Linked DNA regions of Homo sapiens: region 2 is linked to region 1. The links are contacts of gene promoters, found by promoter capture Hi-C in human tissues and cell types (Jung and others, 2019). All regions are on one chromosome and are shown on one strand. The core of a region is centred on a gene start or on the middle of the fragment in contact, and the rest is flanking DNA. Distances in the headings are between cores, read along the strand shown.

Region 1 (6,927 bases), core at 2,131-4,630:
GGAGGCTGAGGCAGGAGAATTTAGGCCTGGCACGGTATTTCATACCTAACACTTTGGGAGGCCAGGAAGAAGGATCGCTTGAAGCCAGAAATTCAAGACCAGCCTGGGGGCAACATAGTGAGACTTCATCTCTATTAAAAAAAAAAAAAAAAAATTAACCAGGAGTGGTGGCATACACCCAGCATCGATATGGGAGGATCGCCTGAGCCCAGGAGGTCTGGGCTGCAGTGGGCCATGATCATGCCACTGTGCTCCAGCCTGGGTGACGGAACTTTCTTAAAAAAAAAATTGTTTAAAAATATTCCAGGCCGGGCGCTGTGGCTCACGCCTGTAATCCCAGCAATTTGGGAGGCCGAGGTGGGTGGATCACGAGGTCACGAGTTCGAGACCAGCCTGGCCAACATGGTGAAACCCCGTCTCTACTAAAACTACAAAAGTTAGCCAGGCACGGTGACGGGCGCCTGTAATCCCAGCTACTCAGGAGGCTGGGGCAGGAGAATTGCTTGAACCTGGGAGGTGGAGGTTGCAGTGAGCCGAGATTGCCACTGCACTCCAGCCTGGGCGACAAAGCGAGACTCCTTCTCAAAAAAAAAAAAAAAAAAAAATCCAATCCTTCATCCTACAAAAAAAAAGAGAAGAGGGATGGATGATTCAAAATTGGCTAAACACTGAAAACTTTTAAGTGATGGACACATGAAGAAGGCTCATTAGATTGTCTTCTCTACTTCCACGTATGTCGACAATAAAGAGTTTAAAAAATGTGCGGAAGGATCCAAAGAAGGATCATAAAAGACACAAACGAGCCGGCTCTGTGGCGCAATGGATATCTGTTCTATGGATATTTGTTCATTCAACAAGTATTTTCTGCTACCTACTACGTGCCAGGTACTGGAGATACTTAAGTGGAGAAAACAAAGCTCCTGTTCTCATGGCGCTTCCATTCTGGTTGCGGGGGAGGCACACGAGCAAAAATTACAATCTCGAGTGATAACAAGGTCGACAGGAGTGGGCTGGTCTAAGAAGGCCTCAGTGAGGAGGAGGTGATGGTGGCGCAGAGCCTGAGCGAGGAAGAGAAGAAAGCTCAAGGATGTCTGAGACAGCCAGCTGGGAAGGAAGACAACCTAACAAATTTGGTCTTCTTTCCCTTTGTTTTGCTTTTTACCCCTAACAGCCTTTTGCTTATCCAAAGGATATGGACACCACTGGAATGTCTCTCTTTGTCCTGACACGAAAATAAAAATTAATCGGGTAATTTTAATACAGTACATTCTTCAAGAAGGTGCCAGGTCGCCGCTGTTTCCCCAAACGTTGTGTAAAACAATTTGATTTTTTCTTTTTTTTTTTTTTTTTTGAGACGGAGTTCCGTTCTTGTTGTCCAGGCTGGAGTGCACTGGTGCGATCTCGGTTCGGCGAGATCTTGGCTCACCGCAACCTCCGCCTCCCAGATTCAAGCGATTCTCCCGCCTCAGCCTCCCGAGTAGCTGGGATTACAGGCATATGCGCCACCACGCCCGGCTAATTTTGTATTTTTAGTACAGACGGGGTTTCTCCATGTTGGTCAAGCTGGTCTCGAACTCCTGACCTCTGATAATCTGCCCGCCTCGGTCTCCCAGAGTGCTGGCATTACAGGCGTGAGCCACCGCGCCCGGCAATTTGATTTTTTCGAAGGAAGAATTTTCCAATTTATCTAAGCGTTATGCCATGTCTGTTAATAAAATTGTATTAAAGTTAAATCATGAGTTTTTAATGCAGATAAATCTTTCCATAGCAAAGAGAACAGATTAGTTTCACAAAAGATATTGATCAGATGCTACATAATTTTACACATAAAGACACAAAACTATCAGTCTCCGCCCTTCTGTCAAACCATCGACTTAGAAGTGTCTATAGTTTAATTTCATGATTTTTTTAAGCAATGAAGTTGAAATTCTACTTTTCCTTAGGAGCGATACGCATATTTTACACTCAAGTGGCCAGCGTCAACTAAGGGCATTCCAGATGGTCAAAAAAGAAGTGCCTCTGCTACAACGCCTGAGATCATCATATAGTAACTTCTTCAAACCACCACGAAGTAGCAAGGCTTCAAAGCTGTCAGGAATGCTACGTTCTACAACAGCCAGATAATTAGGAAACCAGCAGATGGGAGGAGAAATCTGTCCCTATGAAACACGTTCCCATCTCAGTTTTGAAAGTGGCTTTATATAAACGCATTCATCTTCTACCCAATAACCCAAAGGTTATTGAACGCCAATAACCAAACGACTCAGGACTGCGAGATGATTCCCAAGGAGGCGAACTTGTGCGGACAGATTTCAAGTACCACGAACCATCACCAGCAGAGCGAAGGGCAGGTTTCCCTCCGACGGCTGCGATGCTCCGAGTCCCTCCTTCCCCTAGCACCCCGCCGCCCACTGAGCCCTTCCCCAAAGGTCCCCGAGTTCTGAGCGACGCACGCCCCCGACCCTAGTTACCGGGGAGAGCCGCCGAGGGCCCAAGGCGCCAGTAAGGCTCCGCGCACGCAGCCCAGCCCGAGGGGCGCCCGCCCGGGCGCTCGGTGTGGGGCCTGATGCAGAGCAGGAGGAGGAGGTCCGAGTGGGCCCCAGCGCTCTCAGGGTCTGGCGCCGGCCCCTCTGCCTCCCGCCTCTGCTGTGCCTGGCGTCCAGGGATCTTCCAAGGACTCCCCACCCCCTACCCTGCTCTCCCACGCGGGGTCATGACTTCGGGCGGCGCCAAGCCCCCAGCGTAAGGGTCCCCCCGGCTTCCCCGGGAAAGGGTCGGGGTGCAAGGCTAGGCCAGGAGTGCCTGGCGAGAGGGCCGGAGCAGGACACAGGGGGTCAGCGGCAGGGCAGGGCGCTCCCGCCGCGGTGCCTGGGGAAGGGAGCGGGGGTGGGGCTGCCGCGGGCCAAATGCGGGACACAGGCGCGGACGGGGGCGGCCGCGGATCGGGCGGACGGCCACTCTGGGAGGGGCTGGGAGGTACCGCGGCCCCCTGCGGGACGCACCTGCGCAAAGTGAGGGACCGGCCCCCCCCCCCCCCCCGCTCCGCGCGAAGCCTCACCTGCCCAGCGCCCGCTTCATTCCCGCGTCGGCTGCGCAGCGCGGCTCAGCCGCCGCCGGGCCCGTCAGGCGTAGGTTCTGCTTCAGGCGGCAGTCGGCGTCCAGCGCCGCGGCGGCCGAGCCGGAGGAGGACGAGCCCGCGGCGGCGCAGCGCTCATGCTCCAAGGCGACGGGCTCGGTCCGCTTCCTCATCCCGCGGCCGACAGGGCCAGCCGCCGACGGCGCCCGCTGGCCTGCGCCGCAGTGCCGCCGCTCACAGCCGCCGCCACCCAGAGCCCGGAGCCCGGAACCCGCCGCTCCTCACATCCCAGCCCAGGCCGCTGCGCCGGCTACGAACCAGCGGCGGGGGCCCGCCAGCCAGGCCGGCCAATCAGCGCCGGGCTCCCGCCGGCTCTGCCCTACCCCCCTCCCCCGGCCCCGCCCCGGCCACCTCCTCTCTAGTTCCAAGGAGCGCGCGCCCAGCATCCCTGGCGCCACCCGCAGCCATTTTGTGGGAGGGTGGGCGAAGCTGCAGCGGCGCGTCATCTGCAGGGCAGGGCTCTGGGCTCCATCCGCAGGCTGCAGCTGTGCTCGCCCGGGCGCTCGGTGTGAGGAGCACCCGCTCCCGGTCGTGCCCGAAAGGGGTGGCCCAGCGAGGCAGAGCCGCAGCGCTGGGCTCCTCGTGCTTCTGTGAACGGAAAACCAGAGGTAGCAAATAGCAGTTCCGTTCTCGTGATTCTTAATTCTTTTTCCACAAGGACATTACCTTTAAAAGTATGCTTTCCGGTCGTCAGTTTTTAATTTGAAGTAAATGTATATACTCAGTGTTTACTTTTGGGCCGAACATCAGGAAATGAACTGCTTGAAAAATTTACTTTTTAAAAACCTGTGTTAGATTTTAGATTTTTATAAAGCAATTAAGACTACCTGATGGGAGGAAAATCCATTTCAAAGATAAATTCGCCCTTATGAAACCCAAATTTAGTACTAATTCAACCCATCCTAGAAAGAGAAAAGGAAAGAATAAAGGGCTGTTTCACAAATTTAGTTTTATAACTTTGGCTTTCTTCAATATGGCATTAGTTTTACAGATGATCTATAACAAAGAGAGATATTTGCTTATTCCAAAGTAACGTTAGAAATTTCAGCATTTGTCACTTTGAAAACTATTGGCAATTGATAAAGGTCAATTGGAAATGCGTTTAGAAATTCAACAGCTTTTTATATTAGTTTTTTCTTTTTTTTTTTTTTTTTTTTTGAGACGGAGTCTCGCTCTCGCCCAGGCTGGAGTGCAGTGGCGCGATCTCGGCTCACTGCAAACTCCGCCTCCCAGGTTCACGCCAGTCTCCTGCCTCAGCCTCCCAAGTAGCTGGGACTACAGGCGCCGGCTACCATGCCCGGCTAATTTTTTTGTATTTTTAGTAGAGACAGGGTTTCACTGTGTAGCCAGGATGGTCTCGATCTCTCGATCCCGTGATCCGCCCGCCTCGGCCTCCCAAAGTGCTGGGATTACAGGCATGAGCCACCGCGCCCGGCTGCTTTTTAAATTAGTTTTGTAATGATACTTTGAAATTGCAAAATAATTTATTGACCATATTACTAAGTGTTACAGCCTGCATTCATAATTGTGTCAATATCTCCAGATATACTTTTTAAAAACATTATGGGCCGAGCTCAGTGGCTCATGCCTGTAATCTCAGCACTTTGGGAGGCGGAGGTGGGTGGATCATTTAAGCACAGGAGATGGAGGCCAGATCAGCCTGGCCAGCATGGTGAAACTCCGTCTCTACTAAAAATACAAAAATTAGCCGGGTGTGGTGGCACAAGCCTGGGTGACAGAGCAAGACTCTGTTTAAAAAAAAAAAAAAAAAAAAGGCTGGGCGAGGTGTCTCACGCCTGTGAGCCCAGCACTTTGGGAGGCCGAGGCGGGCGGATCACGAGGTCAGGAGATTGAGGCTATCCTGGCCAATGTAGTGAAACCCCGTCTCTACTAAAAACACAAAAATTAGCCAGGTATGGTGGCACAACCCTATAATCCCAGCTAATTGGGAGGCTGAGGCAGGAGAATCGCTTGAACTTGGGAGGCGGAGGTTGCAGTGAGCTGAGATCACACCATTGCACCCCAGTCTTGGGGACAAAAGCAAACTTCTGTCTCAAAAAAAAAAAAAAAAATTAGCTGGGCATGGTGGCGCGTGCCTGTATTCCCAGCTACTTGGGAAGCTGAGGCAGGAGAATCGCTTGAACCAGGGAGTCGGAGGTTGTGGTGAGCCGAAATTGTGCCACTGCACTCCAGCCTGGCGACAGAGGGAGACTCCTCTCAAAAACAAACAAACAAAAAAATTAGCTGGGTGTGGTGGCGCACGCCTGTAATCCCATCTACTTGGGAGGCTGAGGCAGGAGAATTGCTTGAACCCGGGATGCTGGGATTCGGAGGTTGCAGTGAGCCGAGATTGCACCACTGCACTCTAGCCTGGGTGACAGAGCAGGACTCCATCTCAAAATAAACAAACAAACATACTATGGAATGTAAATTATAAATTCTTTATAGTGATGTAGTAACACATCCTGGAGAGATTGGAAATCTAGGAAATAACTAAAACGTAAAAAAAAAAAAAGAGGTTTTGACTCTATCGCTCACTTCAATTAAAAAAACAACAACAACAAAAAAAAAACAGCCAGGCGCGGTGGCTCATGCCTGTAATCCCAGCACATTGGGAGGCCGAGGCGGGCGGATCACAAGGTCAGGAGATCATGACCATCCTGGCTAACACGGTTTCACACCCCGTCTCTCTAATAACAATATAAAAAATTAGCCGGGCATGGTGGCGGGCGCCTGTAGTCCCAGCTACTTGGGAGGCTGAAGCAGGAGAATGGCGTGAACCCGGGAGGCGGAGCTTGCAGTGAGCGGAGATCGCACCACTGCACTCCATCCTGGGCGACAGAGTGAGACTCCGACTCAAAAAAACCAAACAAACAAACCAAAAAAAAAAAAAAAAAAAAACAAGGAAGGAAGAGCTGGAGAGGAAAAATCTGTACCGTGTATTGAATCTTTCTTACAGGCACGAGGCCCTGCCCACACAGTGCTCAACTCTTGGTGGTTGAGCCCATGCTAGTGATGCCCACATTTTTATCATTGGTCCACACCTCTCCTTGACCCTTAGGCTCCTCATCATTTCTGCTCTGATTTCTGACAAGCACCACTTCAATGCTGAGCTCCCAACTCTTCTCCCACCCCCAACTCCATCCATGACCTTCTCTGGTAATTCTATTGCAGTTCCTGGGGCCACAATTCTGGGGTCATCCTTGACTTCTCCTTTCTTGTGCTATAGCATGTCTATCACCAAGCCTTGTCAGCTGTGCTTTCAAAATCTATGAGAATTTAACCATTAAATTTTACCGCCTCCATGGTCCCCACCCTGGGCCAAACTGCTGTTATCTCTCACCTCCATTATTTGAATAGCCTAACTGGTCTCCTGCCTCCACTTTGCCTCACTTCTGTCCACTTAATTCAGCTGCCACATAGGGTTTTCTTGTTGTTACAAGGTCTAATTCTGTCATTTATTTGCTCACAACACCTAAGTGGCTCCCCATCTCACTCAAAACCCAAGGCTTACAAAAGGGTTTAACATGGCCCTCCCTGACTGTAGAGCACCCGATTCTGTCGTTGATCAGGGGTGCCACTTGCAACCTGCATGGACTTAGGGTAACAACAAAGGGTGGTGAACGTGAGAATAAAAGACAAGAGACAAGAGTATGTTTGGAAGAAGGGGTCAGGGGGCACCTTGCCTCTAGTGGACAAGGGCCCTGAGCTTTACACAGCCCTCCATATTTATTAGGCAAAACAGATAGGGATAAATGGGGGGTGATTGTGGGGTAATTGTCAGTCGGCTG
Region 2 (6,524 bases), core at 4,021-6,520, 140 kb before region 1:
CGAAGAAGGCTCTGTCTTAGAGGTTCCCACACCTCCCTTGGAGAAATTTGCTTGGGTTGAAGTTGACAGAGATCATCTTACTAATTGTTACTTTTTATATCTTGCAAAAATTTGTTTGAGTAGTGAAACAAAGTCACTGATTGTCCCCGTTACTCTTAACCATGTTTACTATGGGCCTGTGTTCTTGCTGTGTTTTTGGTATTCCTAAATATACATACACATTTTTAAAAAGTATAATGCACATACAGTTTTTTAGATTTTCTGTTTCATTCGTAAACATTTGTAACTTTTTCACTGATAAACAGCTTTGCAGGTCAATGGATAGGATGGTAGTTTTCAGTTTGATAGGTACATGGTAGTCTTGCACAGCCCCCTGTTGCCAGTTTTTTGTTGTTGTCGTTTGCTTTTAAACTCTTGACCATGGAGAATTGTCTTTCTACTACACTAACGTAGAGGGAGAACTGGTGAGGAAAAGACACACTTCCAGACCTGAAGCCACTTGGCAAAGATTTTACTTGCAGTGTACATCTAGGCAGTGAGCACTTGCTTTATGGATGGTATTTTAGAATATTTTTGTAGGGCATTAAGATATGTTTAATACGGTAATTGCTAAGAGATTGACTGCTTTTCCAAACTTATTCTGGGACATTCTTTTTTCTAAAATGGAGATGGTAAAAGGGACAGATTTGTTAGAATACCAACTGGGGCTCTTCATATTTGGTATGCAAAACATAGAAGTGGCAACGAATGGCCAAAACAGGTTATAACAAGGGCTTGGGATGACTTTGCCAGGAAAAGCAGCCAAGAAGCAGTGGCTCCCCCAGAATTCCCTGCTGTTGGGAGAGTTCTGATGCACAGCACCATTTTTTTTTTTTTTTTAATTCTGAGTCTTGCCCTGTAGCGTGAAGCTAGAGTGCAGTGGCGCGATCTCGGCTCAGTGCAACCTCCGCCTCCCGGGTTCAAGCAATTCTCCTGCCTTAGCCTCCCAAGTAGCTGGGATTACAGGCGCCTACCACCACGCCCGGCTAATTTTTTGTATCTTTAGTAGAGACGGGGTTTCACCATGTTGGCCAGGCTGGTCTCAAACTCCTGACCTCGTGATCCGCCCGCCTCGGCCTCCCAAAGTGCAGGAGTTACAGGCGTGAGCCAACGCACCCGACCCGCAACATCATTTTTATTGTCTAAGTGGCGGATGGCAAGGACATAGCTCTGCCTTCACATTCAAGGGCATTTCCTTGGAGCTGGACCAGGACTCAGCTCTACACCTTAGGGTGCCCATTGGAGTATTTATGTATAATCACATCCTGGAGAGGCCAGCGATGGGCTCAGGGATTACGGAAATGACCTTCATGAACAAGATAGTCCCTGCAACAAAACAGGTTTTTTGATCCTCCGTGAGATCTCTTTTGATTGTCTACGTGTGGTGGCTCTGGGTGGAAACCTTTCTCTTAAACCGCACAGTCTGTAAGTCGTAAAGTTGTAAACTTTTAGATCTCACAGTGTGTAAATAAGCTGTGTGCCTATTCTGAATAGGAAGGACATGGAAAATTGGGATTTAACTGCTTCTTTCGCTAATTCATGATGAAAATAAGCTTGCAATCCTTTCTTTGGAAAAGTTACATGCTTGCTGGTGATGGACCAGCAACCAGTCCCACCAGAGCCAATGAGAGGAGGTGTGCTCCCAAGAAAATAACTGCTGTGCCTCCCCCTCAGCCAGAAATGACCTCAGACATTCACCGGCACACTGCAGACTGTGGTAATGTGACACTCTAGAGCTCCTAAATAGAACGCTTTTATTGTTATTTTTGTCTTTTTTTAAATTATGCAAGTCCTGAAGGAAAAATTATTACTGGAGGAAAAATTAGAAAATATAGATAAGCCAGAAGGAAAAAAATTAACTGTAATCCTGTAACCCACTTCTATCGCCCACTTTGTGCTGTAAATATTTTGTGTTCTACATTGTTTTTTCCGTATTGGCAGAAACTTGTTTTTAATACATAAAATAACATTATACTGAACCTATTGTTTCATAACTCTTAGCACTTTATTTGTGGTACATAGCGAAAGAGTAGAAGTTGGGGTGTTCAGAGGAAGATTTGTCAAGCTTTGCCATGCTTGGCAAATCAGCACGTCAAAACATCTGGCTAACATGGAGAGCTTTGTGCTTGGCAAGAGGTGGCGGTTGGTCATGAAGACATTTAATGGATTCTCTGAAGTGGTGGCAAGGTGGCAAGGAGAGTCCAACCTGAAGCTGCAGAGCCTGGGATTGCGCTGCATGGAGAAGAAAGGGTGTGCGTGATTCCACGCTCCTTTTCATCCTGGCCTTTCCATTCGGTCTGTGCAACTGTGGGCTTGGGCGGATTTCTTTGCCATTATTGGCCTCAGTTTTCTCATCTTTAAAATGAGGGGAATCAAGCTGGTGATGTTTCCGAAGTCTGTTGCCATTCTGAAATGTTAGAGTTAAAATGTTTCTATTTCATATTGAATTGACATTCCATCTCTATCCAGAGAGAATTTGAGGATGCTTATGCTAGATACAGCACAAAAGGTTCACATTAGAAGGCCTCAGAGTGAGGGTTGGGGTGGGACAGTGAGGGTCAGGACACAAAACACAGACCAGGATCCTGGCAGTGAAAGCAGCCCATGCCCAGTTATGAGAGTCACGGGATCCCTTCTATAACATCCTGAAAGGACAGTTGCACGGTTTATTCTGTGGGCCTTTGTGAAGCTGTGTTGTCGATGTGCTGAGCCACTGACCTGCAGCACCCCTGCAGTGGATGTAACAATCAGTTTTTGAGACTCTTCCCATAAGCTCCTGGCATGACTACAACACAGATTAAGGAAAAGCAGCTCTACCTTGGGGCCCACACTGCTGTCCTAAATATTCCTAATGAGATAAACACAATGAAATACGATTAATCTTTTGGTTTGGCTGGACCCAGGAGTTAAAGAAGATGATCTAGAGAAGTGTTTTGCAGACCCTTCTGCTCTGTGATCCCCACTTCTGGGATTTGTTTTAATTAGTCAGTTGTGGTACCAGCCTCCGGAATCCTAACACTCCCAATTTTTCTGATGTATTTCCACTTTTATGTGTGAAGTTGAGCTTGCATCTCCTGGGCAGGCTTCCCTGACAGCAGATCGCTCAAAGTCATTTTCTCTGACCAGTAGCTGATGGTGGGTGCTGTTTTGTGTTGCTGACAGCTAGCCACTTGGAAGGTAGGCCTCAGCTGTCATTTTAGCAGATGGAGAAGCCTACAGTGTGTGCCTTCATTTTCTGCAGAAGACAGCCTGGCCTCTGCCCTTGCAGGCTGTGGTGGCTGGTTTTATGTGTCAACTTGGCTGTTGTGCCTAGATAGTAACGTGGATGTCCCTCTGGGGGGGTCGGGGGGTGGTGTTTCCCACACTGACTGAGCATCTTACAATTCAGTTCCGTTCTGATGCTGTCTACCTAGATGTAGCCTCGGATCCCACAGGCTAAAGGCTCAGTCCCACAAGACTTCTCCACCCCAGATGTCAGTTGCACATCAGGACCTCCCTTCTGACCTCTGACCGACAGCCTCCTCAGGTTTGATGATTTGCCAGAATGGCTCATGAAACTCAGGGAAACACTTCACTTGCGTTTACCAATTACTTACAAGGAATACAACCCAGGAACAGCCAGATAGAAGATATGCAGAGGGCAGGTCTGAGGGAGGGTGCAGGGGCTTCCATTCCCTCTGCAGGTGCCACTGTCCCAGCACCTCCAGGATTCACTGAACTGGAAGGAAGCTCTTCCATCCCCTTCAGTTGGGGATTTTATGGAGGCCGCAGTTACCTAGTGTGATTATTGGCCATTGGTGATGAGCTCAGCCTTTAGCCCCTCTCCCTTCACTGGAGGTTGGGGCTGGCGGGAGGGGTGGGCCTGAAACTTCCAACCCTCTAATTAGAGCTGGTTCCCCTGGCAGCCAGCCTCTGCCCTGAGGGGCTTGCCAAAAGTCACCTTTTGGTGACCACATCAGGCGTGGTTGAAAGGGACTTGTTATGAATAACAAAAGACACTTCTTTCATTTTTATTGCTCTTATCACTTAGGAAATTACAAGGGTGTTAGGAGCACAGGCCAGGAAGAACAAATAAGTATATCTCATTACATCACAGTTTCACAGCCTCCCATGGGGGAAGGCCTTGCAGAACAAACCCTGCCACCAGCTACCTTGCACCAGAGCTGCAGCTTGCCTGGGTCTCCAGCCTGCTGGCCCACCCCACTCTGTAGGTTGTGGCCTTGCACTTCAGAATCACTTGAGCCAATTTCTTAAATCTGTCTCTCTCTACACATACCTTACTGTTCTGTGTCTCTGGAGAACCCTGACTAATCCACAGGGGCCGTGGTGGCTTTATAAAATATGGCCGGGCGTGGTGACTCACACCTGTAATCCCAGCACTTTGGGAGGCTGAGGCAGGTGGATCACCTGAGGTCAAAAGTTCGAGACCAGCCTGACCAATATGGTGAAACCTGGTCTCTATTAAAAATACAAAAATTAGCCGGGCGTGGTGGTGGACATCTGCAGTCCCAGCTATTCGGGAGGCTGAGACAGGAGAATTGCTTGAACCAGGGAGCCAAGACTGCGCCATTGCACTCCAGCCTGGGCAACTCTGCCTAAATAAAATAAAATAAAATAAAATAAAATAAAATAAGGTAACCGACCTCACCTCCACATCTCAGCCATATTTCCTTTTAAACTTTATGTGATTTCAGACCCTTAAAAAGTTGCAAGAATAATACAGAGATTTCTTGTAATTCCTGTTGACGCTTCATCCGGATTCCCCAGATGTTAAACATTGCAACACACTTGTTAGGTCATTTTGTCGCTGTAAGTTCATTTTTCTCCGAATCATTTGAAAGTAAGAACCAGCCTGACCAACAAGGTGAAACCCCTTCTTTACTAAAAATACAAAAATTAGCCAGGCATGGTGGTGGGCGCCTGTAGTCCCAGGTACTTGGGGGACTGAGGCAGGAGGATTGCTTGAACCTGGGAGGAGCAGGTTGCAGTGAGCTGAGATCACGCCACTGCATTCCAGCCTGGGCAACGGAGCGAGACTCTGTCTCAAAAAAAAAAAAAAAAACTGAGTCATAGCCTTGTTGCCCCTTCACCCCCAAAAACGGCAGTGAGTACTCCGGAAAAACAGGGAAGCTCTCCTACACACCCACAGTAGAGCAGTTAAACTCTGGACATTTTAATCAACACAGTGCTGTTGTCTGCAAATCTTTTCAGTGTCACCAGCTGTCCTGCTTAATAAATACAAATAAAATGCAATAATACAATTGTAAAAAATACAAATAAATAATTGGGAGAACTTTAGAAGTCTTTTCAGATTATATCTTTTATTATTATTATTATTAAACGGATCAAAGCTTTAAGCCATTTGGAAATTCAAAGCATCCTAAGACATGCAGCAAATAACCGCAGGAGATAGGAGCTGGCTTTTTCTCACCCATGCAGAATGGCATTCTTAGGATACGGTGAAGGGAAGAGAAGTGAACACAGATTTAGAAAGGTAATTGGACAGTAAGAGAAGTTCGGTTAACAGTGTCTTCAACAGTACCTTGAGTAGGAATGACATGTAATTTTAGGTATAGGTAAGTGGCATTTCTCGGCCTACAAACAGTTAAAATGAAAGATTAAAGTAGTGTTTAAAAACGATGACTGGTAGCTCACTAGGTATAAATATAGTTTGACACGGTCCAGATCACTTAGTGTAAGTTGATTAGGCTCTGTCAGTGATAAGGAGAAGGCTCCCATCGCTTTCTGGCTCTGGATTAGTACTGAATAGACTTTTTGTGGAGCTTAATTGCATAGAAGGCGGGAGACAGTGACTTGTGGCAATGTGTGTCATGGAGTGTAGAAGGAATTTGTTTACTACAGAACCAAGTGATCTCTTAAGATCCCCATAAGTTCTAAAGTTCTATAATTCTTTTACATTTGACATTTTCAAAATTGAGCAAACAGACCTGTGTTTGAGTCGTAGGTACTGGAGTGAGAAGGAAATCCACGATCCACGTTGAGAAGCCTGCCCACTGTTCATGGGAAGCCAAGTTTCCCTGGCAGTTAATTCATTAAGAAAGTACCGTGTGACATCACAGGCTGGGAGCTTGAGAGATGTGCTAGCTAATCCTCACATCCTTACAGCAGATACAGTAGTGGATTATCAGATTGCTCTGTGAGCAACTCCCCAGAAGCCCCCTCAGACACAGTGGAGTGGACACTGTGACACTGTCAAGGAAACCAAAGACCAACCTCAGCGTCTGGCAGGTGGGAGGCCCCTCAACATCTCTCCTCCCACAGGACCTCGGTTCCCCTGGATGGTATCTGAGACTGCTCAGCTCACCAGCAGGAGCCAGCAGGTCCAGCCCAGGGAGGTGGCCCCTTTGTGTCTGGAGGGGCTGGGAGCCCCCGCTCCAAGGCCTGGCTGGTGGAACGTGGTGCCCACTGGCCTCTGGCTGGCTCAGTGGCCTGTGTTCCTGTGTCTTATCAGGGCCAGCTCTGTC

The links. Contacts are between HindIII fragments. The study calls those that stand out against the background at their distance.
Region 2: a contact is called between a fragment that was not itself captured here and the fragment with the promoter of ABHD12 in region 1, in 1 of the 25 tissues and cell types used here (lymphoblastoid cells).

Annotation. Positions count from the first base shown.
Region 1 is chr20:25,387,455-25,394,381 of GRCh38, forward strand. It overlaps ABHD12 (abhydrolase domain containing 12, lysophospholipase), which reads right to left and starts at 3,381. Exons shown (of 13, transcript NM_001042472.3): 1 at 3,059-3,381. The coding sequence starts at 3,249. RefSeq lists silencers at 2,471-2,630, 2,801-2,960, 3,001-3,050, 3,091-3,510. The HindIII fragment of the contact is 14,157 bases long and covers 1-6,927 here.
Region 2 is chr20:25,248,988-25,255,511 of GRCh38, forward strand. All of the region lies in intron 1 of PYGB (glycogen phosphorylase B), which reads left to right. Among named protein-coding and RNA genes, the nearest start is that of PYGB, 4.2 kb to the left of the region's middle. The HindIII fragment of the contact is 6,845 bases long and covers 1,849-6,524 here.